Regions from separate parts of the Homo sapiens genome. Here region 2 is linked to region 1. The links are contacts of gene promoters, found by promoter capture Hi-C in human tissues and cell types (Jung and others, 2019). All regions are on one chromosome and are shown on one strand. The core of a region is centred on a gene start or on the middle of the fragment in contact, and the rest is flanking DNA. Distances in the headings are between cores, read along the strand shown.

Region 1 (6,787 bases), core at 2,329-4,828:
CAGGGCAGGAAGAGAACTGAAAGGTAGGAAGACAGTTTTGGAGGGAATTGCAGAAGTCTGGATTATAGAGGCCTAATATAAAGTGATGGGGATGAGGGAGAGACTGACAGGTACAATGATGTGGAGTTGGTGAGTCCCTAGTTGTGGAGGGGGCCTAAGAAGATCTTGCTGTGGTGAAAGCATGGGGAATATGAACAGCTGAACTGTTTTGCAGGAGGCTGGAGCTGGAGGTACGATGTGCGCTGAGATAGCAGGGAAGTAAGTGGTGATTGCAAGAAAGAACAGTGAATTATTTTCTTTTCTGAATTCTTTCTTTTTTTTGAGACAGGGTGTCAATCTGTTGTCCAGGCTGGAGTGCAGTGGCACGATCTCAGCTCACTGCAACCTCCACCTCCCGGGTTCGAGCAATTCTCCTGCCTCAGCCTCCCAAGTAGCTGGGATTACAGGCACCCACCACCGTGCCCGGCCCATGTTCTGAATCATTTCAATTCACTGCCGTTAATCTTGGTTTATACAGATGCAGCTCCCTAGTGAGCAGCTGGAAATTCAGCTTTGGTGCCCAAGTATTGTCACTTCCAGCTTTACCCTACAACTGGGATGCATCCTTCAGGGGGGTCATGAAGTTTGCCCTAAAGAGTAGTGATCCCTGGAGGTTGTATAGCTCATTAAAAAAATCCACTGTGCTATATTGTTTGGGAGTCTTTAGAACACAGGCGTCTCTCATGGGAGATGGTCCTGTGTCAGAAAATTCAACCCTATGGAATTGTACAGTTATGTAACATCTCAGAGCCTTGGCTCCACATCCCTGTCCTGGCTCTCTCTGGCTCATCATTTCCTCCAGTTGAAACACCCTCCACCCATTCTTCTCACATGTCACTTTTTAAGAAATTCTTCCCACCCCCCACATTCCGTCATCAAAATGAATGGTCTTTCCCTATGGGTTTGTGTTTCCATTTGTTTATCTATTCAATTAATAACTTTTTTTTTTTTGAGAAGTCTCACTCTGTGGCCCAGGCCAGAGTGCAGTGGCATGATCTCCGCTCAGGGTAAATTCTGCCTCCCGGGTTCAGGCGATTCTCTTGCCTCAGCCTCCTGAGTAGCTGGGATTACAGGCACCCGCCACCACGCCTGGCTAATTTTTGCATTTTTGGTAGAGTTGGGTTTCACCATGTTGGCCAGGCTGGTTTGGAACCCCTGACCTCAAGTGATCCTCCCACCTCGGCCTCCTTTGGATTACAGGTGTGAGCAACCATGCCTGGCTTCAACACTTAAATTGCCTTAAAGGAGTTTATGGTCTGGAGTTGGGTGCCACACAACACAGTCACTATGTGTGACAATTTAAATTTTATTTTTTTGTTTTTAATTAATTTATTTTTTTGAAAGCTCTGTCATCTAAGGCTTGAGTGCAGTGGTGCCATCTCAACTCCCCGAAGACTGTCTCCTGGGCTCAAGCAATCTGAAATTTTAATTAAAATGAAATTAAATAAAAATTTTTAGGCCAGGCATGGCGGCTCACACCTGTAATTCCAGCACTTTTGGAAGTTGAGATGAGCGTATCACTTGAGGCCAGGAGTTCCAGCCCAGCCTGGCCAACATGGTGAAACTCCACCTCTGCTAAAAATACAAAAATTAGCCAGGCATGGTGGCGCGTGTCTGTAGTCCCAGCTACTCAGGAGACTGTGGCAAGAGAATCACTTAAACCCAGGAGATGGAGGTTGCACTGAGCTGAGATTGTGACACTGCACTCCAGCCTGGGTGACAGAGTCAGGCTCTGTCTTGGAAAAAAAAAAAATTAAAAATGCCTTGGTTGCCTTAGCCACATTTCAAGTGCTCAATAGTCATATGTGGCTAGTGGCTGCTGTAGTGCACGACACTCACACAGAATAACTCTGTAACCAATATTCTACTGGAGACAGAATCGATCCTATGGAATTCAAATTCAAATCCTATGGAATTGTACAGTTATGTAACATCTCAGAGCACTGGCTCCACATCCCTGTCTTGGCTCTCTGTGGCTCATCAGTTCCAGAATAACTCCGTTACCAGAATAACTCCATTACTAAAATTCTACCGGGCAGCACTCTATAGGAGGGAATAGAGACAGACACCACATATATTGCACACACAGATAAAATGGATTAAGGAAAACAAGATAATAATAGTGAGAGGGACTGGTTGGCTACTTTAGATTGAAGGACCTGTGAAAAATGTCCAGGGAGGTCATATTTAAGCCGGGATAAAAATGAAAAGGAAAAAAGTGAAAATGGTGGGGCTGGGGAGCTAGATGGAGAACACAGCCACGGAAAAGGCCTTAGGGTTGAGGCAAGTTGGAAAGAAAGCTCTAGTAGCTGGGGCTGAGTCAGCAGGGGAGAGAGTGGTAGAAGAAATCTATGGGGTAGGTCAGGGCCAGACCACCAGGGCTTCAGTAATTTGAGTAAAGATTTAGGAATTATTATTATTATTATTATTATTATTTTTCTGAGAGAGTTATGAGAGGGTTATAAGTGGGGGAATGATGTAGTCTGATTATATATTTACCTTTACCTCACTTATCCTGATTTCATTAGTTGCTTACTTACCCATGTCCCTGCCCGATTGCACAAGTCTGGATTTTTGACGTCCCTAGTATATTGAGTCATGTCCCATCAGCTCAATATGTTAGTAATAACTGGTTGAATTGAATTAGCTTTTTTTTTTCAATCTTTTTTTCCTTAAGAAACAGGGTCTTGCTCTGTCACCCCGGCTGGTGTGCAGTGGCACAATCATAGCCTCCAACTGCTGGGCTCAAGCAACCCTCCTGCCTCAGCCTCCTGAGTAGCTGGGACTACGGTCAGGTACACAAGGCCTGACTATATTTTTTGTTCGTTTTTTTTGCAGAGAGGGAGTCTTGCTATGTTGCCCAGGTTGGTCTCAAACTCCTTACCTCAGGTGATCCACTTGCCTTGGCCTCCCAAAGTGTTGGGATTACAGGCGTGAGCCACTGTGCCTGGCAAGAAATGAATTTTTATTTTTATTTTTGAGATGGAGTTTTGTTCTTGTTGTCCAGGCTAGAGTGCAATGGCTTGATCTCGGCTCACTGCAACCTCCACCTTCCAGGTTCAAGCAATTCTTCTACCTCAGCCTCCTAAGTAGCTGGGATTACAGGCGCCCGCCACCACCCCCAGCTAATTTTTGTATTTTTAGTAGAGTCGGGGTTTCACCGTGTTAGCCAGGCTGGTCTTGAACTCCCGACCTCAGGTGACTGGCCTACTCGGCCTCCCAAAGTGCTGGGGTTACAGGCACGAGCCACCATGCCCGGTCAAGAAATGAATTTTTAAACGCTGCCATACAAAACACTATGCTGAGATCATCCACTTCCCCATGAACCCTGTCATGAGCTGCAAGATACAGACCACCACTGCCTCCTTGGAAGTTACTGAATTCTTAGACCAGAAGAGGAGTTAATGAAGTACTAGGCAAGCTTACTCATGTTTGTATGGTTTAATGATTAACAGCAGAAGTCAACAGCCCGATTTAACGCATGTGGGTGCTTGACACAGAGCCTGCTATATAGTATTCTCCAAAAACCTCAGCTAGTGCTATTACTGCATATGATGTAGGTTTAGTTTTCCAAGTTCTTCCGTGGCCCTTTTTGCTTATTATATCAATCCTTGGTGGGAGATAGAGGAAGCATTTTTAGTGCTATTTTACAACTGAGGAAATAGAGGTTTGAAGAGAACTCAGGAACTCTCAGGGTTACCCAGCATTGTGAGTGACAGAGCCTGGATCTGAACGTAAGTCTGCTCCAGACTTCTGTTTCCTGAAGCATTCTCTTGAAGTCCCTTGGTAAGGAGGTGTAGTCTGAAGCATGTTGTACAGGAGCATGAAAGGTTAGGCACAGTGATTCACATTCACTCTCAATTTCTCTTGCTAATGGCAAACTTGGCAATATGACTGTTAAGGCTAGGGATAAGTCGTTGTGGCCACTGAGTAGGAAAAGCTCCACGTCCACCAGAGGCCCAGTTTACTCTGAAAAGCAAGTGCATCTCTGCCACTGGAAGGCTGGCATTTGCTCTCGTGCTGCCATTGAGCCACGCTGGTTCTCTGCTTCCAGTTTCCTTTTCTTTTCTTTTTTTTTGTTTTGTTTTTTGAGACGGAGTCTTGCTCTGTCGCCCAGGCTGGAGTGCAGTGGCGCGATCTCGGCTCACCGCAAGCTCCGCCTCCCGCGGGTTCACGCCATTCTCCTGCCTCAGCCTCCCGAGTAGCTGGGACTACAGGCGCCAGTGACCACGCCCGGCTAATTTTTTGTATTTTTAGTAGAGACGGGGTTTCACCCTTTTAGCCAGGATGGTCTCGATCTCCTGACTTCGTGATCTGCCCGCCTTGGCCTCCCAAAGTGCTAGGATTACAGGTTTGAGCCACCGCGCCCGGCCCTGTTTCCTTTTTGTTTGTTCCCCTGATACCCTGTATCAGGACCAGGAGTCAGTTTGGCGGTTATGTGTGGGGAAGAAGCTGGGAAGTCAGGGGCTGTTTCTGTGGACAGCTTTCCCTGTCCTTTGGAAGGCACAGAGCTCTCAGCTGCAGGGAACTAACAGAGCTCTGAAGCCGTTATATGTGGTCTTCTCTCATTTCCAGCAGAGCAGGCTCATATGAATCAACCAACTGGGTGAAAAGATAAGTTGCAATCTGAGATTTAAGACTTGATCAGATACCATCTGGTGGAGGGTACCAACCAGCCTGTCTGCTCATTTTCCTTCAGGCTGATCCCATAATGCATCCTCAAGTGGTCATCTTAAGCCTCATCCTACATCTGGCAGGTAAGTGAGTAGGTGCCCTGGGCGGGAAGAAGGGAGTAGAGGGGGGTTAGAAGCCAGAGAATGGGGTAGGGGAAGGGGAGGGGATGGTGGTGGTGGATTAATGTAGATGTTCTTTGGGTACCGTTGTATGGCTATGAGTTAACTAGTGAGCAGGACCAGAATAAAGTTTTAGGCCAAAGAAATTGCTTAACTGCTGTGAATTACAACATTCATGGCTAAATGAACAAGGCAAGATGCAGCACAGTGTGTCACAGGCTGCCCTTTGTGTTTAAACAAAAAGGGTGTGGTTAGATGTATATGCATAGACACATGTATATAGGAAATAGTGACAGTGGGTAATGTGGGATGGGGGCAGAGGGTGGGAGGTGGAGGGAGAGTTAATCCTTATTGTATTTTTTTGTGCCTTCCGATTTTTTTCAGCCACATTCAATTCTCTTTCTTTCTTTCTTTCTTTCTTTCTTTCTTTCTTTCTTTCTTTCTTTCTTTCTTTCTTTCTTTCTTTCTTTCTTTCCTCTCTCTCTCTCTCTCTCTCTCTTCATGAGGTCTCACTCTGGAGTGCAGTAGGGCAATCTTTTTTTTTTTGAGACAGAGTCTCACTCTGTCGCCCAGGCTAGAGTTCAGTGGCGTGATCTCGGCTCACTGCAGCCTCCGCCTCCTGGGTTCAAGCAATTCTCTGCCTCAGTCTCCCAAGTAGCTGGGATTACAGGTACCTGCCACCACTACCAGCTAATTTTTTTGTATTTTTAGTAGAGACAAGGTTTCCCCATCTTGGCCAAGCTGATCTTGAACTCCTGACCTTGTGATCCACCTGCCTCGGCCTCCCAAAGTGCTGGAATTATAGGCGTGAGTCACCGCGCCTGGCCTAGTTGGGCAATCTTGATTCACTGCAACCTCGACCTCCTGGGCTCAAGTGATTCTCCCACCTCAGTCTCCCAAAGTGCTGGGATTATAGGCGTTAGCCACCACATCTGGCCTAAGTATTTTATTTTGAAATAAACACTTTAATTCAAAACATTCTATGAGATAAGGAAAGAGTAAAATAGACATATCCTAATTTTTAAACACAAATTTCTGGAGTGATATATGCCTTTGGGATTATGGGGGAAAAATAATCTCTCATTATATACTTCTATAACCAAATTGTAATAGCATGCATTATATGTGTAATCCAAAAAAATGATACTAGTATTAGGCAAAATTAAACAAGAATTTCTTGGTGGCCGGGCGTGGTGGCTCACACCTGTAATCCCAGCACTTTGGGAGGCCAAGGCGGGCAGATCACGAGGTCAGGAAATCGAGACCATCCTGGCTAACATGGTGAAACCCCGTCTCTACTAAAAATACAAAAAAATTAGCCGGGCGTGGCGGCGTGTGCCTGTAGTCTCAGCTGCTGGGGAGGCTGAGGCGGGAGAATGGCGTGAACCTGGGAGGCGGAGCTTGCAGTGAGCCGAGATCACACCACTGCACTCCAGCCTGGGCGACAGAGCAAGACTCTGTCTCAAAAAAAAAAAAGAAGAAATTCTTTTTAGAAAGACTTTGTCTAAAAAAAAAAATTAAAAGAATGCTAGCATAGAAAAATGCTTATAATCTCAAATTTTAAAAATTCCAGCTATATCAGCTAACTTGGAAAAAGGGGAAAAACCTTCCAGCTATAATGTCTATTTACAAGGCTGGGCATGGTGGCTCATGCCTGTAATCCCAGCACTTTGGGATGCTCAGGTGGGTGGATCACTTGAGGTCAGGAGTTCAAGACTAGCCTGTCTCTACTAAAAATACAAAAATTAGCCGGGCGTGGTGGCATGTGCCTGTAATCCCAGCTACTTGGGAGGCTGATGCATGAGAATTGCTTGAACCCAGGAGGCGGGGGTAGCAGTGAGCCAAGATCTTTGCGCCACTGCACTACAGCCTGGGTGACAGAGCAAGACTCTGTCTTAAAAAAATAAAAAATAAACAATTAAAAAATGAATAAAATATTTTTTTAAAGAAAGTAA
Region 2 (6,787 bases), core at 1,558-4,057, 73 kb after region 1:
TTGGTTTTCAAGGGGAATGCTTCCCGCTTTTGCCCATGCAGTATATTGGCTTTTTTTTTTTTTTTTGTCATAAATAGCTCTTATTATTTTGAGATATGTTCCATCAATACCTAGTTAATTGAGAGTTTTTAGCATGAAGGGCTGTTGAATTTGTCAAAGGATTTTTCTGCATCTATTGAGATAATCATGTGGTTTTTCTCATTGGTTCTGTTTATGTGACGGATTACATTTATTGATTTGCATATGTTGAACCAGCCTTCCATACCAGGGATGAAGCTGACTTGATCGTGGTGGATAAGCCTTTTGATGTGCTGCTGGATTCAGTTTGCCAGTATTTTATTGAGGATTTTTGCATCAATGTTCATCAGGGATATTGGCCTGAAATTTTGTTGTTGTTGTTGTGTCTCTCCCAGGTTTTGTTATCAGGATGATGCTGGCCCCATAAAATAAGTTAGGGAGGAGTTCCTCTTTTTCTATTGTTTGGAATAGTTTCAGAAGGAATGGTACCAGCTCCTCTTTGTACCTCTGGTAGAATTTGTCTGTGAATCCATCTGGTCCTGGGCTTTTTTTGGTTGGTAGGCTATTAATTACTGCCTCAATTTCAGAACTTCTTATTGGTCTATTCAGGGATTCGACCTCTTCCTGGTTTAGTCTTGGGAGGGTGTATGTGTCCAGGAATTTATCCATTTCTACTAGATTTTCTAGTTTATTTGCATAGAGGTGTTTATAGTATTCTCTGATGGTAGTTTGTATTTCTGTGGGATCAGTGATGATATCCCCTTTATCATTTTTTATTGTGTCTATTCAATTCTTCTCTCTTTTCTTCTTTATTGGTCTGGCTAGCAGTCTATCTATTTTGTTAATCTTTTCAAAAAACCAGCTCCTGGATTCATTGTGTTTTTGAAGGGTTTTTTGTGTCTCTATCTCCCTCAGTTCTGTTCTGATCCTAGTTATTTCTTGTCTTCTGCTAGCTTTTGAATGTGTTTGCTCTTGCTTCTCTAGTTGTTTTAATTGTGATGTTAGGGGTCGAGTTTAGATCTTTCCCGCTTTCTCCTGTGGGCATTTAGTGCTATACATTTCCCTCTAAACACTGCCTTAGCTGTGTCCCAGATATGCTGATATGTTTTGTCTTTCCTCTCATTCATTTCAAATAACTTATTTATTTCTGCCTTAGTTTCATTTTCATTCAGGAGTCATCCAGGAGCAGGTTGTTCAGTCTCCATGTAGTTGTGTGGTTTTGAGTGAGTTTCTTAATCCTGAATTCTAATTTGATTGCACTGTGGTCTGAGAGACTGTTTGTTATGATTTTCATTCTTTTGCTTTTACTTCCAATTATGCAGTCAATTTTAGAATAAGTGCGATGTGGTGCTGAGAAGATTGTTGATTTGGGGGTGAAGAGTTCTGTAGATGTCTATTAGGTCTGCTTAGTCCAGAACTGAGTTCAAGTCCTAAATATCCTTGTAAATTTTCTGTCTCATTGATCTGTATAATATTGACAGTGGCATGTTAAAATCTCCCACTATTATTGTGTGGGAGTCTAAGTCTCTTTGTAGGCTTCTAAGAACTTGCTTTATGAATCTGGGTGCTCCTGTATTGGGTGCATATATATTTAGGATAGTTAGCTCTTCTTGTTGGCTTGATCCCTTTACCATTATGTAATGGCCTTTTTTGTCTCTTTTGATATTTGTTGGTTTAAAGTCTGTTTTTTCAGAGAGTAGGATTGCAACCCCTGCTTTTTTTTGCTTTCCATTGCTTGGTAGATCTTCCTCCATCCCTTTATTTTGAGCCTATGTGTGTCTCTGCATGTGAGATGGGTCTCCTGAATACAGCACACTGATGGGTCTTGATTCTTTGTCCAATTTGCCAGTCTGTGTCTTTTAACTGGGGCATTTAGCCCATTTACATTTGAGGTTAATATTGCTATGTGTGAATTTGATGCTGTCATTATGATGCTAGCTGGTTATTTTGCCCAATAGATGATGCAGTTTCTTCATGGTGTCGATGGTCTTTACAATTTGGTATGTTTTTGCAGTGGTTGTTCCTTTCCATGTTTAGTGCTTCCTTCAGGAGCTCTTGTAAGGCAGGCCTGGTGGTGACAAAATCTCTCAGCATTTACTTGTGTGTAAAGGATTTTATTTCTCCTTCACTTATAAAGCTTAGTTTGGCTGGATATGAAATTCTGGGTTGAACATTATTTTCTTTAAGAATATTGAATATTGGCCCACTCTTCTGGCTTGTAGGGTTCCTGCAAAGAGATCTGCTGTTAGTCTGATGGGCTTCCCTTTGTGCGTAACCCGACCTTTCTCTCTGGCTGCCCTTAACATTTTTTCCTTCATTTCAACCTTGGTGAATCTGACAATTATGTGTCTTGGGGTTGCTCTTCTCAAGGAGTATCTTTGTGGTGTTTTCTGTATTTCCTGAATTTGAATGTTGGCCTGCCTTGCTCTGTTGGGGAAGTTCTCCTGGATAATATCCTGAAGAGTGTTTTCCAACTTGGTTCCATTCTCCCCATCACTTTCAGGTATACCAATCAAATGTAGGTTTGGTCTTTTCACACAGTCCAATATTTCTTGGAGGCTTTGTTTGGTCCTTTTCATTCTTTTTTCTCTAATCTTGTCTTCATGCTTTACTTCATTAAGTTGATTTAAAATCTCTGATATCCTTTCTTCCACTTGATCAATTCTGCTATTGATATTTGTGTATGCTTCACAAAGCATACACAAGTTCTCGTGCTGTGTTTTTCAGCTCCATCAGGTTATTTATGTTCTTCTCTAAAATGATTATTCTAGTTAGCAATTTGTCTAACCTTTTCTCAGGTTCTTAGCTTCCTTGCATTGGGTTAGAACCTGCTCTTTTAGCTCAGAGGAGTTTGTTATTACCTATCTTCTGAAACCTCCTCTGTCAATTCATCAAATTCATTCACCGTCCAGTTTTGTTCCCTTGCTGGAGAGGAGTTGTGATCCTTTGGAGAAGAGCCATTCTGGTTTTGGGAATTTTCAGCCTTTTTGCTCTGGTTTTTCTTCATCTTCACGGATTTATCTACCTTTGCTCTTTAATGTTGGTGACCTTTGGTTGGGGTTTCTGTGTGGATGTCCTTTTTGTTGATGTTGATCCTATTCCTTTCTGTTTGTTTGTTTTCCTTTTGACAGTCAGGCCTCTCTGCTGCAGGTCTGCTGGAGTTTGCTGGAGGTCCACTCCAGACCCTGTTTGCCTGGGTATCACCAGCAGAGGCTGCAGAACAGCAAAGATTGCTGCTTGTTCCTTCCTCTGGAAGCTTCATCCCATAGGGGCACCCGCCAGATGCCAGCTGGAGGTCTCCTGTATGAGATTTCTCTTGACCCCTGCTGGAAGGTGTCTCCCAGTGAGGAGGCACGGGAGTCAGGGACCCACTTGAGGAGGCAGTGTGTCTCTTAGGAGAGCTCAAGTGTTGTTCTGGGAGATCCCCTGCTCTCTTCAGAGCCGGCAGGTAGGAATGTTTAAGTCTGCTGAAGCTGCGCCCACAGCTGCCCCTTCCCCCAGGTGCTCTGTCCCAGGGAGATGGGAGTTTTATCTATAAGCCCTGACTGGGGCTGCTGCCTTTCTTTCAGAGATGCCCTACCCAGAGAGGAGGAATCCAGAGAGGCAGTCTGGCTACAGTGGTTTTGCAGTGCTGTGGTGGGTTCCATCCAGTTCAAACTTCCCTGCAGCTTTGTTTACACTGTGAGGTGAAAACCACCTACTCAAGCCTCAGTAATGGTGGACTCCCCTCCTGCCACCAAGCTGGAGTGGAGCATCCCAGATCAACTTCAGACTGCTGTGCTGGCAGCAAGAATTTCAAGCCAGTGGATCTCAGCTTGCTGGGCTCCATGGGGGTGGGATCCGCTGAGTTAGACCACTTGGCTCCCTGGCTTCAGCCCCCTTCCCAGGGGGTTGTGAACAGTTCTATCTCACTGGTGTTCCAGGTGCCACTAGGGTATGAAAAAAAACTCCTGTAGCTAGCTTGGTGTTCGTCCAAATGGCCGCCCAGTTTTGTGCTTTAAATAAAGGTCCTGATGGCATAGGCACCCAAGGGAATCTCCTAGTCTGCTGGTTGTGAAGACCATGGGAAAAGCTTAGTATCTGGACCGGAATGCACCGTTCCTCATGGCACAGTCCCTCAAGGCTTTCCTTGGCTAGGGGAGGGAGTTCCCCAACCCCTTGCACTTCCTGGGTGAGGCGACACCCCACCCTGCTTGGCTCGCCCACCGTGAGCTGCACCCGCTGTCTAACCAGTCCCTATGAGATGAGCTGGCTACCTCAGCTGGAAATGCAGAAATCACCCACCTTTTGCGGTGAACTCGCTGGGGGCTGCAGACCGGAGCTCTTCCTATTTGGCCATGTTGCCAGCCACTTCTTTGTTTTGTTTTCAAAGAAAAGCACTAAAGAAAAATTCTTTATATTTCTATAGAGCTTTACATTTTATATTTCCACATACTTTGATAGTGTTTTTTTCTTAAGTTTTGTTGCATGCTTCGTAAAAACAGCTATATTGGGGTATGATTTACATACAGTAGAACTCACCCATTTCGGGTATACCTCAGATTGGCAAATATATACAATTGTATAACTACCAACACACTCAAGATACAGGGCCAGGTGCAGTGGCTCACACCTGTAATCCCAGCACTTTGGGTGGCTGAGGCATGTGGATCACCTGAGCTCAGGAGTTTGAGACTAGCCTGACTAACATGACACAACTCTGTCTCTACCAAAAATGCAAAAAATTAGTCTGGTATGGTGGTGTGCACCTGTAATCACAGCTACTTGGGAGGCTGAGGTGGGAGGATCACTTGAACCTGGGAAGTGGAGGTTGCGGTGAGCCATATTCATGCCACTGCACTCGATCCTGGGTGACAGAATGACAGCCTGTCTCAAAAATAAAATTGTTATACAAAATTAGAAGATGTATATATATAAAAGAAAAAGGATAAAAAAATCACCTGTTTCCTTTGCCCAGAAGAGACACATTGTTAAACAATTTTAAAAATATAACCTTTCAGGCTTTTGTCTGTGTATGTATGTGCTCCTTCTTACAAGAGTGGGTTAAGGTTGTTGATCTTTTGTATTTTAATTGTCACACTCAAGATGAAGATCATTTTCCTCACTTCTATCCTGGGGATCTTTTCACATCAATAAATATGCACCTACAACATTCTTTATTACTTTTTTTAACTTTTATTTTAAGGTTAGGAGTACATGTGCAGGTTTACTGCATAGGTAAACTTGTGTTATGAGGGTTTGTTATACAGATTATTTTGTCACCCAAGTATTAAGCCTAGTACCCATTAGTTATTTTTCCTGATCCCCTCCCTCTTCCCACCCTCCACCCTCTGATAAGCCCCAGTGTTTATTTTCTCCTTTACGTGTCCACGAGGCATTCTCATCATTTAGCTTCGACCTACAAGTGAGAACATGAGTTATTTGGGTTTCTGTTCCTGCGTTAGTTTGCTAAGGATGATAGCCTCCAGCTCCATCTGTGCTCCTGCCAAGGACATGATCTCATTCTTTTTTTTAATAGCTGCATAGTATTCCATGGTTTGTATGTACCACATTTTTGTTTTTCTTTTCTTTTTCTTTCTTTTCTTTTCTTTTTTTTTTTTTTTTTTTGAGACAGAGTCTTGCTCTGTCACCCAGGCTGGAGTGCAGTGGCACAATCTTGGCTCACTGCAACCTCCGCCTCCCAGGTTCAAGCTATTCTCCTGCCTCAGCCTCCCGAGTAGCTGGGATTACAGGCATGCACTACTAATTTTGTAGTTTCTTAGTAGAGATGGGGTTTCACCATGTCGCCCAAGCTGGTCTCGAATTCCTGACCTCAGGTGATTGACCTGCCTCAGCCTCCCAAAGTGCTGGGATTACAGGCATGAGCCACCGTGCCCAGCCCACATTTTCTTTATCCAATCTGTCATTGATGGGCATTTAGGTTGATTCCATGTCTTTGTTATTATGAACAGTGTTGCAATGAACATATGTGTGTATATATCTTTATGATACAGCAATTTATGTTTCTTTGGGTATATACCCAGTAATGGGATTGCTGAGTTGAATGATGGTTCTGTTTTTAGGTCTTCAAAAAATAGTCACACAGTTTTCCACAATAGCGGAAACTAATTTACACTCCCACCAACAGTGTATAAGTGTTCCTTTTTCTCTGCAACCTCATCAGCACTTGTTACTTTTTGACGTTTTAGTATTAGCCATTCTGACTGGTGTGAGATGGTACTCATTGTGGTTTTGATTTGCATTTCTCTAATGATCAGTGATACAATATTCTTATAAATGGTTGCTGAATCTTTATTTGATTACTCAGAATCTTTATTTGATGCATGTTGATGGCACATGAGACTTAGATTATTTGCAATTTTATGATATTAACACTAGTCTTGCATTCATTTTTAAGAAATTTACTGTACCTCCACCTACTTCTAAACCATACTTTTGCATTTTGAGATGATCATTTGATTTTAAGATCTGCTGTTCTTTAAAAGTATAACATTGGTTTCTTTCCCAGGTACCCTAGAGATGTTGGGGAAGAAATTGGACCTGGTGCATAGATGGAGAAATGAACTTCATGTAAGTGAAGAAATACATCTGTTATGCAAGACACTCAGGTGGTGGATTTTGCATGTTTTCTCTAATATATTTTTTATCTGAATATGAAAAAAACTCTCTTAGCCCACAAAAGAGGAAGTTTGAGTAAAAATTTGGTAGAAAAGTGTCTGAAAGGACAAGCTTCCTTTAGCAATACAACTCCAGAAGTTTCATTTCTCCC

What was found. The method cuts DNA at HindIII sites, captures the fragments that hold promoters and counts their contacts. A contact is called where the count stands out against the background at its distance.
Region 2: a contact is called between a fragment that was not itself captured here and the fragment with the promoter of HAVCR1 in region 1, in 3 of the 25 tissues and cell types used here (adrenal gland, aorta and stomach).

Annotation. Positions count from the first base shown.
Region 1 is chr5:157,055,907-157,062,693 of GRCh38, reverse strand. It overlaps HAVCR1 (hepatitis A virus cellular receptor 1), which reads left to right and starts at 3,578. Exons shown (of 9, transcript NM_001173393.3): 1 at 3,578-3,773; 2 at 4,739-4,796. The coding sequence starts at 4,751. The HindIII fragment of the contact is 13,602 bases long and covers 1-6,787 here.
Region 2 is chr5:156,981,720-156,988,506 of GRCh38, reverse strand. No RefSeq gene overlaps it. Among named protein-coding and RNA genes, the nearest start is that of TIMD4, 22 kb to the right of the region's middle. The HindIII fragment of the contact is 5,224 bases long and covers 196-5,419 here.